5 separate regions of the Homo sapiens genome follow, and regions 2, 3, 4 and 5 are each linked to region 1. Evidence: promoter capture Hi-C in 16 types of primary human blood cells and fetal thymus (Javierre and others, 2016). All regions are on one chromosome and are shown on one strand. The core of a region is centred on a gene start or on the middle of the fragment in contact, and the rest is flanking DNA. Distances in the headings are between cores, read along the strand shown.

Region 1 (2,700 bases), core at 21-2,520:
CGATTGGCTTCGAAGCCCACCGGACCGCGGGCAGCAAAGAGAGCGTTCTCGCATAGCCCTTTAATCACGTTTCCTTCAAGTTCTCCTCCAACCCGAATCCACGTAATTCAAGAGCTGGTGACATTTTGGTGGGGAGGAGGGAGCCGAGAAAGGGCTGAGGAAGAGTCGGGGATTTTGTTAAGCAGTTTAATAAGCAATCCTCATTACCTTATTTGTTTTGTTTTGTTTTGTATAGCAAACCAGTTCGAAGGGCTGAACTTTTGGCTTCAAATGCTGTGAACCAAAACGTAAATATCCTTCTGGCCAAGAGAAGAAGGTGTAGATACACGGAAACAAGAGGGCTGCAAGACACTCTCTTGACCTTGTGATGTACCTGGAAGCAGGTTAATATTGGCGCTTTCCAAGCTTCTGGGTAAAGCGATCCACACACCTGGGTCCACAGCCCAGCAGCCGCTCCAAATCCAGCCAGGAAAATGGGTCTGGGCGTCCTCAGAGCTCTGCAAGAACCCGGGCATGAAGGGGCATCGCCGAGTTAACACATTTGCTTCTGGGCAGTTGGATAAAAGACAGTCAAATGCATCAGATAGGCGCGCGCGTACACACGCGCGCGCACACACACACGCAGCTAGCTGGAAAGCGGCTTACAAAACACTAGAGACATGCCAAGATGACTTGAAAAGGTAGCCAACATCCAGGATCTTTCCGGAACACAGAAGGGCCAGCAGGGAGGTTATCAAAGTCTTCTCAAGTCTTTCAATTCTTCCTCTCTCCTCTGAGTGTGTGTGTGTCTGTCTAGGTTTCGTTGGTCTGCCCCACCCCCGTCCAGTTGCGCTTTTTTTTTCTGATATAACGGACCGTGCAAAATGGATTATATGGGTGGGCTGTGTTCACAGCCAGAGCTCCCCAAAGTCAAGGATCCTAAGGGAGCAGCCAGCTGCTAAACAATTCACATCCTCAAGGGAAGAAGGAAAAACACGCTCAAACACACGCAAACACGCGCACACACATACATAGTCCTCCGTTCGGGCAGCTCTGCACACGCTCACCGCCTCCCTGCGCGCCGCGGAACACAGCGCCCCGCCCGCTGGCCACCGCGCTGGGGCGAGTCCGCAGTTCAGGCGCGAGGCAAGCAGCCGAGGTCCGGGGCTGCGGCCGCGGCCGGGGCGGACCCGGGAGCTGGGCTTCCCAAAGCGTCGCGTGTGGGCAACGGCGGCCTCCTGGCCGCGTGGAACTGAGCCCTGCGCTGCAGCATGAAGGCGGCGGCGGCGGCGGCGGCGGGCGCGCGGCCGTGAGCTCAGCCCGCGCTGCAGTGACGGGAGCGGCCGTGTCGGCCAGACCCCGAGAGTCCGTGAGACCCCGGCCGGGGCCGCTCCGCTGCTGTCAGCCCTCGGGCCTCCCAGCCAGACTGGTTCTGAACCGATTTATCAGGGGGTTGCGGAGAGGGCCGGCGAAGCGCCAGGAAATCCCCAGGCTGAGGAGGCGCGGGGGCGTTGCAGGAAGGGGGAAGGGAAAAGGCAGAAAACCTGGAGAATGAAAGCGAACTTCCAGGGGCGTCCCCAGCCTCCTGCAAAAGGGCAATTTGCTGATCGCCCACTTCCTCGCAGTTACGGGATAGAGAGAATCATCACTGAGTCAAGCTTCGGCTGCTTAGGGCGGTGGGAAAAGTCATTATCTATAATAACCCGCCGGAAATTTTGAGGAGAGCTACTGACTTGGGGGTTTCAGTCATCTGAGGCTGGCTTCCGCTGTCCCCTTAGTTGTGGGTGGTGATTTGCTTACTAATCAGATGGGAGCGGATTCTGAAAAGAACATTTATATTTGGGAATCAACTCAGCTCAGCATCAGACATTACGAATACTGCAGTTGGTCACATTTTACTATGTGAAGGGCAGAAAGGGAGCCCAACAGTCTTCATAAGCCAGACCTAGTCTCTAAGGTCACCGGCACAGACGCAGGGTCTAAAGCAGGAAAGAGGTGCGACTGGAAAGGAGGTTAGACAGGGCCCTGCGGGAATGGATCTGCCCGGAGCCCTCGCCTGGTTTTGCTTGAGACTCCGACAAGACTCCCAATGCTTCTCTCCCCGACCCTATCCCCACTCCCTCCATCCTGGAAAAGCCAGTGAGCAAAGTTAACTCTTTCTTCTAAGAAACCCTGAGTGAAATCTTGCTCTTCCTTTCTGCTAGAGTCCTGAAACCCTTTCGCTTCTCATTGTGGGTTCACCAGCACGTGGTCTTCGGACACTGAGAGCACCTTCGCTCTCAGCTGTGATCCTAGCTAGCCCAGACACCAGTCTGTACCCAAAGGAAGAGTAGGAAGTTGCAAAGGGAAGCTGGCTAACAAGGGCTTCTTCTGCCCTACTTGGCAAAGGCCCATACGGGTGGCCTCCGTGGATATGGAGCTCCTTCATTTTGTTCCAAAAAGAGCTCTGCCAGGCTTTACCATTGCCCTGGAGGTGCACAGGCGCCCGTATACTCGAGCACAACCATGGGCTCACCCCAAGCGCGCACACCTGCACCCACGCGTAAGGAAGAACCACACAGCTATCTCTGTCGGGGAAGAACACGAGGAGTGAAGTGCTTTAGGTGGAAACTCCTCACATCTCCTTTCTTTCCTCTGCTCCCCCTCTCTGCCCCTGGTACTCCGGATCCAATCCTTGGCTTAGGAATCCACTCAAGCCACGTCTGGCTGCTTTGTTCCAGA
Region 2 (2,700 bases), core at 112-2,611, 1.9 Mb after region 1:
GCAGCATCTTGGCAATGACAAATTAAGTAGCTTCCTTTACACTAAATTCTTTGGGAACTTCAGTATACTCAGACCTCGATTTTCAATAGTTTTAATTAATATATTCCACAGTCAATAGGTTTGATAAACTTGAGACATCTCAAACCCATTTTAATAAAATTGACTTACAAAATAGAAAGGAAAGAAAATTGCATATAGATCTTGACAGATGTGCAAACTAACTCTCTGTACTCAGTAAACACAGTTTTCTCATAAAGAGATTTCCTGAGTTTTAGATATGCAAAATAATAGCTGAGCAATATTTTTAATTAAGAAAATGAAATACAAGGGCACAGTTTATTTTTAACCATTTGAGGAAAATGGGTAGGACGACAGGGAACAAGAATAGTTTCATGAAAAGCTTATTATCAAATTAATCAAAAAAGATATTTTTCTAAAGGATGTTTATAATGTTTATGAACTTCAGTAAACTACTTATATGGAGTTATTGTGTTGATTATTAAAACTTGTACTGATTTTAATATTACTACCACTATGGCTCTGTTCTCTACAACAGGATTTCTCAACCTCTGCACTATTAATGTTTTGGGCTAGATTAAGTCTTTGTTGTAGGGGACCATCCTCTGCATTTTAGGATGTTTATCAGCATCCCTGGCTGCTATTCACTGAGATACTAGTAGCAGCACTTCCCTCCCACTAGTTCAACAATCAAAAACATCTTTAGACATTGCCAAATATTCCCTGAGGAGCAAACATCACTCCCAGTTGAGATTTTCCTCTACGAGACAGTGTAATTTCTTATTCTAGAGTTAAGCTATATTTTCATAATTTTCAGGAAGGTATTTGCACTCTAACTGAACAGAATGAGGATATCGTGACATTCAAACCCAGCTGTTCATGAAACTGTAATGGAGAGAAGGAAATAAACACATCTCAAATGTGACTAAATAGCAAGACAATTGGCTCAACACTACGTGCAGAAAAAGTACAAACTCTAGAACAATGTGGATGCTTTATAACTGAAGCTTAATCATAAAAGACCCAGTTATTGACCTTCATATGAGAAAAATGGTAAATAAGAGTACTTTTTCAGTGCTGCTATCTCTGAATCCCTCCATTAAAATCAGCAGTGTGGCAAAGCTACATGAAAAACCTTGTCAAGACATTAAAGGCAGGCAGATAACGTTTGGCTGTATTCATTTTACATGTTGTTGTGCATTATGTTAGCAGTTTTTAAATGAAATGCCAGTGAGAAAAACACTAAAGGGAGATGCTTAAAAGGTAGAGCTAAGCTGCCACCTAGAGAATATAGAAATGACAGCATGTTAGCCACCTAAATTTGCTACATGAACAATATTGTCCTATTAACCAAAAATAGATCAAATTCAAAATCTCAAACGCAAAGTAAAATAAATTCTAATGTTATGCTTTTTAAGATTAGCCAATTATTCATAAAATTTTAAATTTACTTTCTCAGTTGTGCTTTTAAAGATTTTGGAGAGAGTTGGCTAACAGAGGCAAACCTTTAAAAGTTCAAAATAATTCTGAAGTGGTCATTGCTGGACAATAGCAGAATGCCTGTATAGAAAGTAGTGCACTTCAATGGCCTAGGCAAAGAATTTATGACTCAGACCCCAAAAGCAAATGCAACCAAAACAAAAATAAATAAATGGGACCTACCTAAACTAAAAAGCTTCTGCACAGAAAAAGAAATAATCATCAGAGTAAACAGAATGGGAGAAAATATTTGCATATTATGCATCCGACAAAGGACTAACATCAATAATTTAAAGGAACTAATACAAAGCAGCAAGAAAAAAAATAAATAATCTCATCAAAAAGTGGGCTAATGACATGAATAGACATTTCTCAAAAGAAGATATATAAACGGGCAACAGACACATGAACAAAATGTTCAACATCACCAATCATCAGAGAAATACAAATTAAAACCACAATAAGATACCACCTTACTCCAGCCAGAATGGCCATTATAAAAAAGTCAAATAAGCAATAGATGTTGGCATGGCTGTGGTGAAAAGGGAATGCCTGTACACTGCTGGTTGGAATGTAAATTAGTACAACTTGTATGGAAAACAGAACAGAGATTTCTCAAAAAATTAAAAGTAGATGTACCATTCAAGCCAGCAATCTCACTACTGGATATCTACACAATGGAAAAAAGAAGTCATTATATCAAAAAGAAAATGTGATATATGATATATAAATGTGATATTATATATATACACACACACACACATATATATATATATATCTCCCCACTTTGGAATGCTACTCAGCCATAAAAAAGAACAAAATGGAGGGAAACAGCCAAGATGGCCGAATAGGAACAGCTCCGGTCTACAGCTCCCTACGTGAGCGACGCAGAAGATAGGTGATTTCTGCATTTCCATCTAAGGTACGGGGTTCATCTCACTAGGGAGTGCCAGACAGTGGACACAGGACAGTGGGTAGAGCGCACCATGCATGAGCTGAAGCAGGGCGAGGCATTGCCTCACTCGGGAAGCGCAAGGGGTCAGGGAGTTCCCTTTCCTAGTCAAAGAAAGGGGTGACAGACGGCACCTGGAAAATCGGGTCACTCCCACCCTAATACTGCGCTTTTCTGACAGGCTTAAAATACAGCGCACCAGGAGATTATATCCCGCACCTGGCTCCGAGAGTCCTATGCTCACAGAATCT
Region 3 (2,700 bases), core at 159-2,658, 1.6 Mb after region 1:
AAACATTTGTTATAAGTCCTTCATTGCATTTTGATGATCCAAAAGATGTGTCCCTCATACTGAATTCCATGCTGAAGAAAGAACATACCACACAGCACTGGCTACAAGATATATGGAAGAAAAAGGAACATGATCTAAGACAGAGAAAGCAGACTTCTGGGGAGAAGCTACTATAAAACTGAGGAAGAACTAGGGTGGTGGAGGGGTACTAGAAACCAATTCTATATAGGTATTAAAAAGTCATTCCAATTATAGGATGGCATCAATCAGGGTGACCAGCAGCCATGGAACCCTTAGCAAGGGTTAAAATAAAGAGAAAAGTAAACAGGCACACTGGTTTTCCAACTGAAGTTTAGAACAGGGAGATCTACACTTTTCTGCACTCTTCAAAAGCAGGTGTTAGAGACACAGAATAGAGTTATGAAGCCCCAGTTACTCCACAGACCCAGGCCCAATAAAGTCAAGCAAACTGGCCTCCACAGGTAGTATTTAAAGAGCCAACCATGCAATAGCATTGCTGGCATCCAAAAAATTTCAAAAGATTTAGCCCTTGGCTATAGAACACCAACAACTTATTTCCAAACCTCAATCTCCAATGCCTAACACTAGACTGAGTTAAATTGGTTCCTAAATAAGCAAGGCAGACGGAAGATGGCAGAATTCTCATCCTGAAGCACATTGATAGAGTTAGTTTGGGTCCATGTAATGATGGGGTACAATCCTAATTTTACTATTAGTACCCTCTTGCATATTATTCCATTATCAGCTTAATCTGTTAATTGATCACATTTATAATTGTATTATTCTTTTATCCACTGAAAGAGATTTCTGTTCCCTTACAATTTGTCCTTTCATATTGGCACCACTTTTTTGCACCACTACCTTCGAATATCCTTCCACTACTTCATTTTATTTATAAGAGGAGATTTACACAGAAACATGTATTTCAGTTCTTATTTTATAAAAATATCAGTTCCACTCATGTTAAATGGAACGCAGAGTCGAAGATGGCAGCTGCAGGACTGAGGGCTTTGTTTCTTGCTGACTGTTGGACAGAGGCCACCATCAGCTTGTAGGCTCTCTCAGTTCTTTCCTCTGCGGGTCTCCCAACATAGGCAGACCATCACATGGCAACTTCCATCTTCATAGTCAACAAGAGGGTGAGAGACTCCAGCAAGACGGCACTTCATCTTATGTTACACAATCGTGTAACCATGTATACGTAATCACATATATCTCATCCCCTTTGCATACGCTAGAGCTTAGAAGTAAGTCATATTTCCCACCCATGCTCTAGGGGAGAGAGTTATGTAAGGACAGGAACACCAGGAGTCAGGGACCAAGAGGGCAACCTTAGATTCTGTCCACTACAATTTATTTATTCCATAGGCTAAGTAATTTTAAATAAGGGGAGCCACATTTATAAGTCAAGTTTTTCTCTCTCCTTTAGTAAATATGATGAAACTGAGGATATATTCACATGTAAAACCAATTATTATATTAACTTCCTTTTGGATGTCAAGTTACCCAACTTTCACCTTTATAAAAAATGGTTCCAGAATCCCCAGTACAATTTTGAAGTACCGTCAGACCAAGCCAGTTGAAGAGAAGACAAATGTGATCTCTTGATGGCCATTTTTGCTGTGCTGCAAATCTCTTTGTTGCTTCCTTGTTTTGTCTTTTTAAGTTTAATTGAAATATCAAGTAACAAATTTTAGTACTATCACAGGCAAATATATTTTTTCCATTGCATTTTTATATTTCCCTTAATCCCCTTTGTTTACTAAAAAGAAACATACATAAAATCACAATTCAATATTTTATTTTTAGAATATCAGCTACGTTGTAGTTAAGTATGTTCATATGTCAATATATTTATAATATATGTATCTATCTACCTATATATATACTCTTATACAAGGTCATAACCCCTTTTAAGGTTTCTTGCGTTATAAATATTAATATTTCTTTCTTGTTAGGTTGATTTTCCTTTCATGGGCATTGTTCTTAAATTTGAAGACATTTGTTTGGCACTATATAAGCAACTTCTTACATATACATACACCTTTCCCAAAGTGAAGAACAGCAATAAAATAATAATTTGAATTCTACTGAACTGTCTTCCTAACCTTGGTATAATACCAAGGTCTTATACTAATTTATTTCATATTCTGTTTCTCATTTTATCTTTTTGTTCTAACTTTTTTAGTGTTTCTTAAACATTTTACTACATATAAAAAAGACTTTTTAAGAGATTTATCAGCAGCAGTTCAATTTTGAAAGTTCAATTAGTGCCAGGTTACTATTGTAAAGATAATCTATGGTACAAAAGAACATATCTATCCATTAAGAGAAGATACTATTTACTTTTTCTCAATAGTCACTGCATGGAATAGGTTTAAATTAATGATATGATCTTGGTTTTTGGAATAATGCTATCAAGATTGTATGGAATATGTTAATAACTAGAAAATATGTCTTAGACTGTATTTGTAATTATAACTAACTTCCTAGCAAGCTAACAAAGTTGGACAGGTGATCTATGGGTTTTGTTTGAGATGAACCACCTATTGTTTGCATTTCTATACCAAAATATTTATTCACCCAATATCACTGCTTCTTTTGCAGCAATCTTTGGTAGTGACTGCCTAATTCCAGCACCCAAAGTACCACAGGCCTAGGAGAGGAGCAGGTTCAACA
Region 4 (2,700 bases), core at 25-2,524, 1.9 Mb after region 1:
ATATATACGTATTGAAAAGTTTGAAAGTGCTCAGGTCTTCAACAATGGTGTCTTAATCATATTAAGATGTACTTTAATAAAGTTAAAGTCTTAAATAATAATTGTCATCAGTTGAAAAGGTGCAGTAAAATTATATAGTACTGTACCAACCTACATGCATAGATAATATAGACTGAAATAACCTTAGGGACAGTTTTGTAGTGGTCACAATCATAAAAATCTCAAAAAGCAGAAAAGGGAAGTGACAAATCACAAGGATATATTTATTATCACCCAATATTAATTTTTACCATTAGCATCTTGTGTCAGAACTCCAAGGACTACCAGGAAAAAATGAAGAAACTATGATTAGGAAATGGGCGTTCCCACTTTCATCCAAAATTGCCATTTGCATGAAGGTGACTTTGTATAAATTATATTCATCTCTTTTCAGGATCCTTGACTGTATATCAAAATGAAATATTAAGTTGTGTATTCACAGAATCCCAAGTTAAGAAGGATATTCTCTTGGGTTGAATTCGGTGATGAATTTCGAGTTACTCTCTCTCTCTGTGTGAGAGTCTATATTGTATAGGAGAGCTTCATTTATAAAATGTCTCAGTATTGAAGTGACCCCGAAACAATAAAAGGTGGGCATGTGATACCTAAAAACATCTGTTTGGAATGCATTTATTTACATGCCATTCATCAAAAGGGATTAGTTATTCTCTAGATTAATGCTATGCCTTCATTACTGCCCTATATGGTTAAGACTTTCACAATAATTCTCCATTTTCATCTATCTTTTGGATTAAATTGATTTTTAGTCTGCAAGAAGAGGAAACAATTTCACAAAGGAATCAGGTTCATTCTGAGCACTGTTCTGTAAAGCCACACCCTCAGTTCCCAGGGCTCTATGCATTCACTCTCCTTTGATACCAGAAGTTCATTGATAAGTTTGAGAAACACTGCCTGGGAGAATACTTAGGATGCATTACAGAATTTATTTAGGGAACAGAATATTTAGGGAAATTTGCAGGCAAGACTTAAATGCAAGAAAACAGGCAGCTGAAATATTTGTATATTTTTAGGAAAACCAATATAAATCCCTTTTCCAGCCCTCCAAAATCACTCTCACATAGTTTTTGAAGCTTAAAATTCCTTCCACACAAGAGAGCAATGCCTTTCAACCCATAGGTAGTGACATGGGTAACTAACCAATACTGTGCTTAAAGTGTACATACACTTGAGAATGACAGTATGTTATATTCTCAACAAAGATACAAGCAGCTGAAACCAAATCTTTCCTGAAAGCAAGTTTTAACTGAGGAAAAAAGCAAGATATTCTGTGCACATTAAGTGGAAAAAAACAGGAAGGGAATCCATGCATTGGGAAAAGAAGTCTAGAAAGAGCAAGTAAGAGTGTCAAAACAAGCTTTACCCAATTCAGAATTTTCCAAGAGTTACAATGAGTGGCTGACTTCTATTTCCTGATCCAGCCTCTGCCATCTTTCCCTCCTGCTCCTTCAACTCACTGCCTTGCAAGGACACTAAAGTATTTCTGCTAGCCATATAGATGGTGGTATCACCAGTTGCAATCCAAACCAAATTTAATGCTCTTTTGGCAGAAAGAAGTTTTAAGTTGTGAGGATGAGTTTTGCTAACATCTGTTAACTAATAAAAGAGCTTTCTCATTGTATACACTAGTTTAAAATGAGTAAAAAAAATTGAAATGTCATAAAACAATAGCATATACAGAGTTGTTCTGAAAAAGAAAAGGTATAGGAAAGACATGACAAAAACTTAACGCAAAAGGACTAAAGTAAGTTCACCAATGATAGGCATGTTTGGTTTCAATACAACAAAGAAGCCTGTGCACTATGGCTCACACCTGTAATCCCAGTATTTTGGGAAGCTGAGGTGGGAGAATCCCTTGAGCCCAGGAATTCAAGACCAACCTGGGCAACATAGCAAGACCCTGTCTCTTAAAAACAAACAAAAAAAATTCCTAAAAACTGGAGCTATAAAAAATGAAGGGGGCTTCTCTCTAAGCTGATGAACTCCCTGGCACTCAAATTTTCAGGTAAGGCTAATGTAGAGAGGGTGCCTGATTGGGAGATGGAGAAGGAACTAAAACTAAATTTAATGCTAAGCATCTCTAATTTTCTATAGACAATATCTCCCCTGGGGCATAAAGAAAGAGAGTTTTGAGACATTAATATAACCCAGAAAATAACAAATATTAGAGAATGACCATAAAAATGAAAATATTTAATGTTACCAATAAACCTGGAGGCCAGAAGAGACATAAACAAAGATGAGACACAACGAATGGTGGCAGGGAAAAGCAAGTAAGCAGAATACATTGGAATATGGTAACCAGGTAGGATTAAGGAAAAGCTGGGATAGGGAAATGGATGCTACTGGACCATGGCTGAGGGCACCAGGAATAAAGGCACAAGGGATTTGAGAATCAGGAGAGTGAGAAATCAGCCTGAAATGGAGTTTCCCAAAATGGAGGGAATACATGTTTTATGGGCGGAGGGGGACAAAAAGAGTTCTATGGTAAAATCTATTTAGAAACACTGAGTAAACACCATGGAACAGATTCCCTGACACCACTGTACAGATTTAGTTGTTCACCATAATTGTTAGTCTCCTAGAGAGGGGGAGAATATGCAGTAGCCCCATTAAATCAGTCTTTTACAGAAACTTTTGGGA
Region 5 (2,700 bases), core at 155-2,654, 2.0 Mb after region 1:
CACAATCAAGTCGGCTTCATCCGTGGGATGCAAGGCGGGTTGAACATACACAAATCAATAAATGTAATTCATCACATAAACAGAAGTAAAAACAAAAACAACATGATTATCTCAATAGATGCAGAAAAGACCTTCAATAAAATTCAACATCCCTTCATCTTAAAAACTCTCAATAAATTAGGTATTAATGGAACATATCTCAAAATAATAAGAGCCATTTATGACAAACCCGCAGCCAACATCATACTAAATGGGCAAAAGCTGAAAGCATTCCCCTTGAAAACTGACACAAGACAAGGAGACAAGGATGCCCTCTCTCATCACTCCTATTCAACATAGTATTAGAAGTTCTGACCAGGACAATCAGGCAAGAGAAAGAAATAAAGTGTATTCAAATAGGAAAAGAGGAAGTCAAACTGTATCTGTTTACAGACAATGTGATCCTATATCTAGAAAATGCAATCATTTCAGCCCAAAATCTCCTTAAGCTGATAAACAACTTCAGTAAAGTCTCAGGATACAAAATCAACGTGCAAAAATCACAAGCATTCCTATAAGCCAACAATAGATAAGCAGAGAGCCAAATCATGAATGAACCTCCACAATTGCTGCAAAGAGAATAAAATACCTAGGAATACAGCTAACAAGGGATGTGAAGGACCTCTTCAAGGAGAACTACAAAACACTGCTCAAGAAAATAAGAGAGGACACAAACAAATGAAAATATTCCATGCTCATAGACAGGAAGAATCAATATCGTGAAATACTACCCAAAGTAATTTATAGATTCAAAGCTATTCCCTTTAAACTACCATTGACCTTCTTCACAGAATAAGAAAAAACTACTTTAAAATTCATATGGAACCAAAAAAGAGCCCACATAGCCAAGACAATCTTAAGCAAAAAGACAAAGGAGGCATCATGCTACCTAACTTCAAACTTCACAACAAGACTACAGTAACCAAAACAGCATGGTACTGGTACCAAAACAGACACATAGACCAACAGAACAGAATAGAAATCTCAGAAATAAGACCACACATCTACAACCATCTGATCTTCGACAAACCTGAGAAAAACAAGCAACACAGAAAGGATTCCCTGTTTAACAAATGGTGCTGGGAAAACTGGCTAGCCATATACAGAAAATTGAAACTGGATCCCTTCTTTACACCTTATACAAGAATTAACTCAAGATGGATTAAAGACTTAAATGTAAAACCCAAAATTATAAAAACCCTACAAGAAAATCTAGGCAATACCATTCAGGACATAGGAACAGGCAATGATTTCATGACAAAAACATCAAAAGCAATTGCAACCAAAGCCAAAATTGACAAATGGTATCTAATTAAAGAGCTTCTGCAGAGCAAAGGAAACTACCATCAGAGTAAACAGACAACCTACAGAATGGGAGAAAATTTTTGCAATCTATCCATCTGACAAGGGTCTAATATCCAGAATCTACAAGGAACTTAAACAAATTTACAAGAAAAAAAACAAATGACCCCACCAAAAAGTGGGCAAAAGACATGAACAGACACTTCTCAAAAGAAGACATTTATGCGGCCAACAAACATGAACAAAAGCTCAATATCACTAATCATTAGAGAAATGAAAAACCACAATGAGATACCATCTCATGCAAGTCACAATGCTGATTATTAAAAAGTCAAGAAACAACAGTACTGGTGATGCTGTGGAGAAATAGGAACACTTTTACACTGTTGGTGGGAATGTAAATTAGTTCAATCATTGTGGAAGACAGTGTGATGATTCCTCGGGGATCTAGAACCAGAAATACAATTTGACCCAGCAATCCCATTACTGGGTATATACCCAAAGGAATATGAATCATTCTATTATAAAAATAAATGCATGCGTATGTTTATTGCAGCACTATTCACAATAGAAAAGACATGGAATCAACCCAAATGTCCATCAATGATAGATTGGATAAAGAAAATGTGGCACATATACACCATGGAATATTATGCAGCCATAAAAAAGGAACAAGGTCATGTCCTTGGCAGGACATGGATGGGGCCATAAGCCATTATCCTCACAGGAACAGAAAATCAAGCACTACGTGTTCTCACTTATAAGTGGGAGCTAACAAAAAAAAAAAAGAAGAAGAAGAAGTCAGAGTGGGCAGTCTGTAACCTATATACGATCCCAGATTCGCAATTTCAGGATTCCTTTTTCTGCAGTGCAGACTCTCCCATCCCCCAGCATGCAGGGTTAATAACTTTCATCTCTGCCCCAGAAACCTCATGTTTACTTTCAAGATAAATAGAGATATCAAAAACTTGTCAAACAGGAGCCAAATCATGGGAGTTTTCTATACCATGCAAAAAGTGTCTAGATTAATGTTATTGCCATTGGAAAGCATTGCAGGATTCTAAACACAGAGAAAAGAGCATATTTGAGTATAGAAAGATCACTTTGGCAGCAATATGGAAAATAGATTCAAGGCAGTCAAGACTAAAGGCAGCAAGATGATTTAGAAGACAACTGCAATGGTCCAGGTAGGAAATGAGGATATAAACACTGGTAATGGAGGAAGAGCAGAGGGAATGGACATGAGCAATGTCACAGAGATTGGACTCTCAGGATTTTATACTCCTATGAGATGTGGTACTAGAGAAGGAATTATCATGATATACCACCAGTGCCTGGTTGAATGCCATTAAAACGATC

The links. Contacts are between HindIII fragments. The CHiCAGO score rates a contact against its expected background, and 5 or more counts as called.
Region 2: a contact is called between a fragment that was not itself captured here and the fragment with the promoter of LRFN5 in region 1, in 1 of 17 cell types (naive CD8 T cells). The highest score is 6.0, in naive CD8 T cells.
Region 3: a fragment that was not itself captured here is called in contact with the fragment with the promoter of LRFN5 in region 1 in 1 of 17 cell types (total B cells); the score reaches 6.0 in total B cells.
Region 4: a contact is called between a fragment that was not itself captured here and the fragment with the promoter of LRFN5 in region 1, in 1 of 17 cell types (naive CD8 T cells). The highest score is 7.5, in naive CD8 T cells.
Region 5: a fragment that was not itself captured here is called in contact with the fragment with the promoter of LRFN5 in region 1 in 1 of 17 cell types (endothelial precursors); the score reaches 5.4 in endothelial precursors.

The regions. Positions count from the first base shown.
Region 1 is chr14:41,605,446-41,608,145 of GRCh38, reverse strand. It overlaps LRFN5 (leucine rich repeat and fibronectin type III domain containing 5), which reads right to left and starts at 1,270. Exons shown (of 6, transcript NM_152447.5): 1 at 1-1,270. The HindIII fragment of the contact is 1,232 bases long and covers 408-1,639 here.
Region 2 is chr14:39,703,363-39,706,062 of GRCh38, reverse strand. All of the region lies in intron 4 of LOC105370461 (a long non-coding RNA gene), which reads right to left. Among named protein-coding and RNA genes, the nearest start is that of FBXO33, 270 kb to the right of the region's middle. The HindIII fragment of the contact is 668 bases long and covers 1,028-1,695 here.
Region 3 is chr14:40,013,279-40,015,978 of GRCh38, reverse strand. No RefSeq gene overlaps it. Among named protein-coding and RNA genes, the nearest start is that of FBXO33, 580 kb to the right of the region's middle. The HindIII fragment of the contact is 4,586 bases long and covers 1-2,700 here.
Region 4 is chr14:39,669,387-39,672,086 of GRCh38, reverse strand. All of the region lies in intron 4 of LOC105370461 (a long non-coding RNA gene), which reads right to left. Among named protein-coding and RNA genes, the nearest start is that of FBXO33, 240 kb to the right of the region's middle. The HindIII fragment of the contact is 284 bases long and covers 1,133-1,416 here.
Region 5 is chr14:39,622,142-39,624,841 of GRCh38, reverse strand. All of the region lies in intron 2 of LOC105370461 (a long non-coding RNA gene), which reads right to left. Among named protein-coding and RNA genes, the nearest start is that of FBXO33, 190 kb to the right of the region's middle. The HindIII fragment of the contact is 5,395 bases long and covers 1-2,700 here.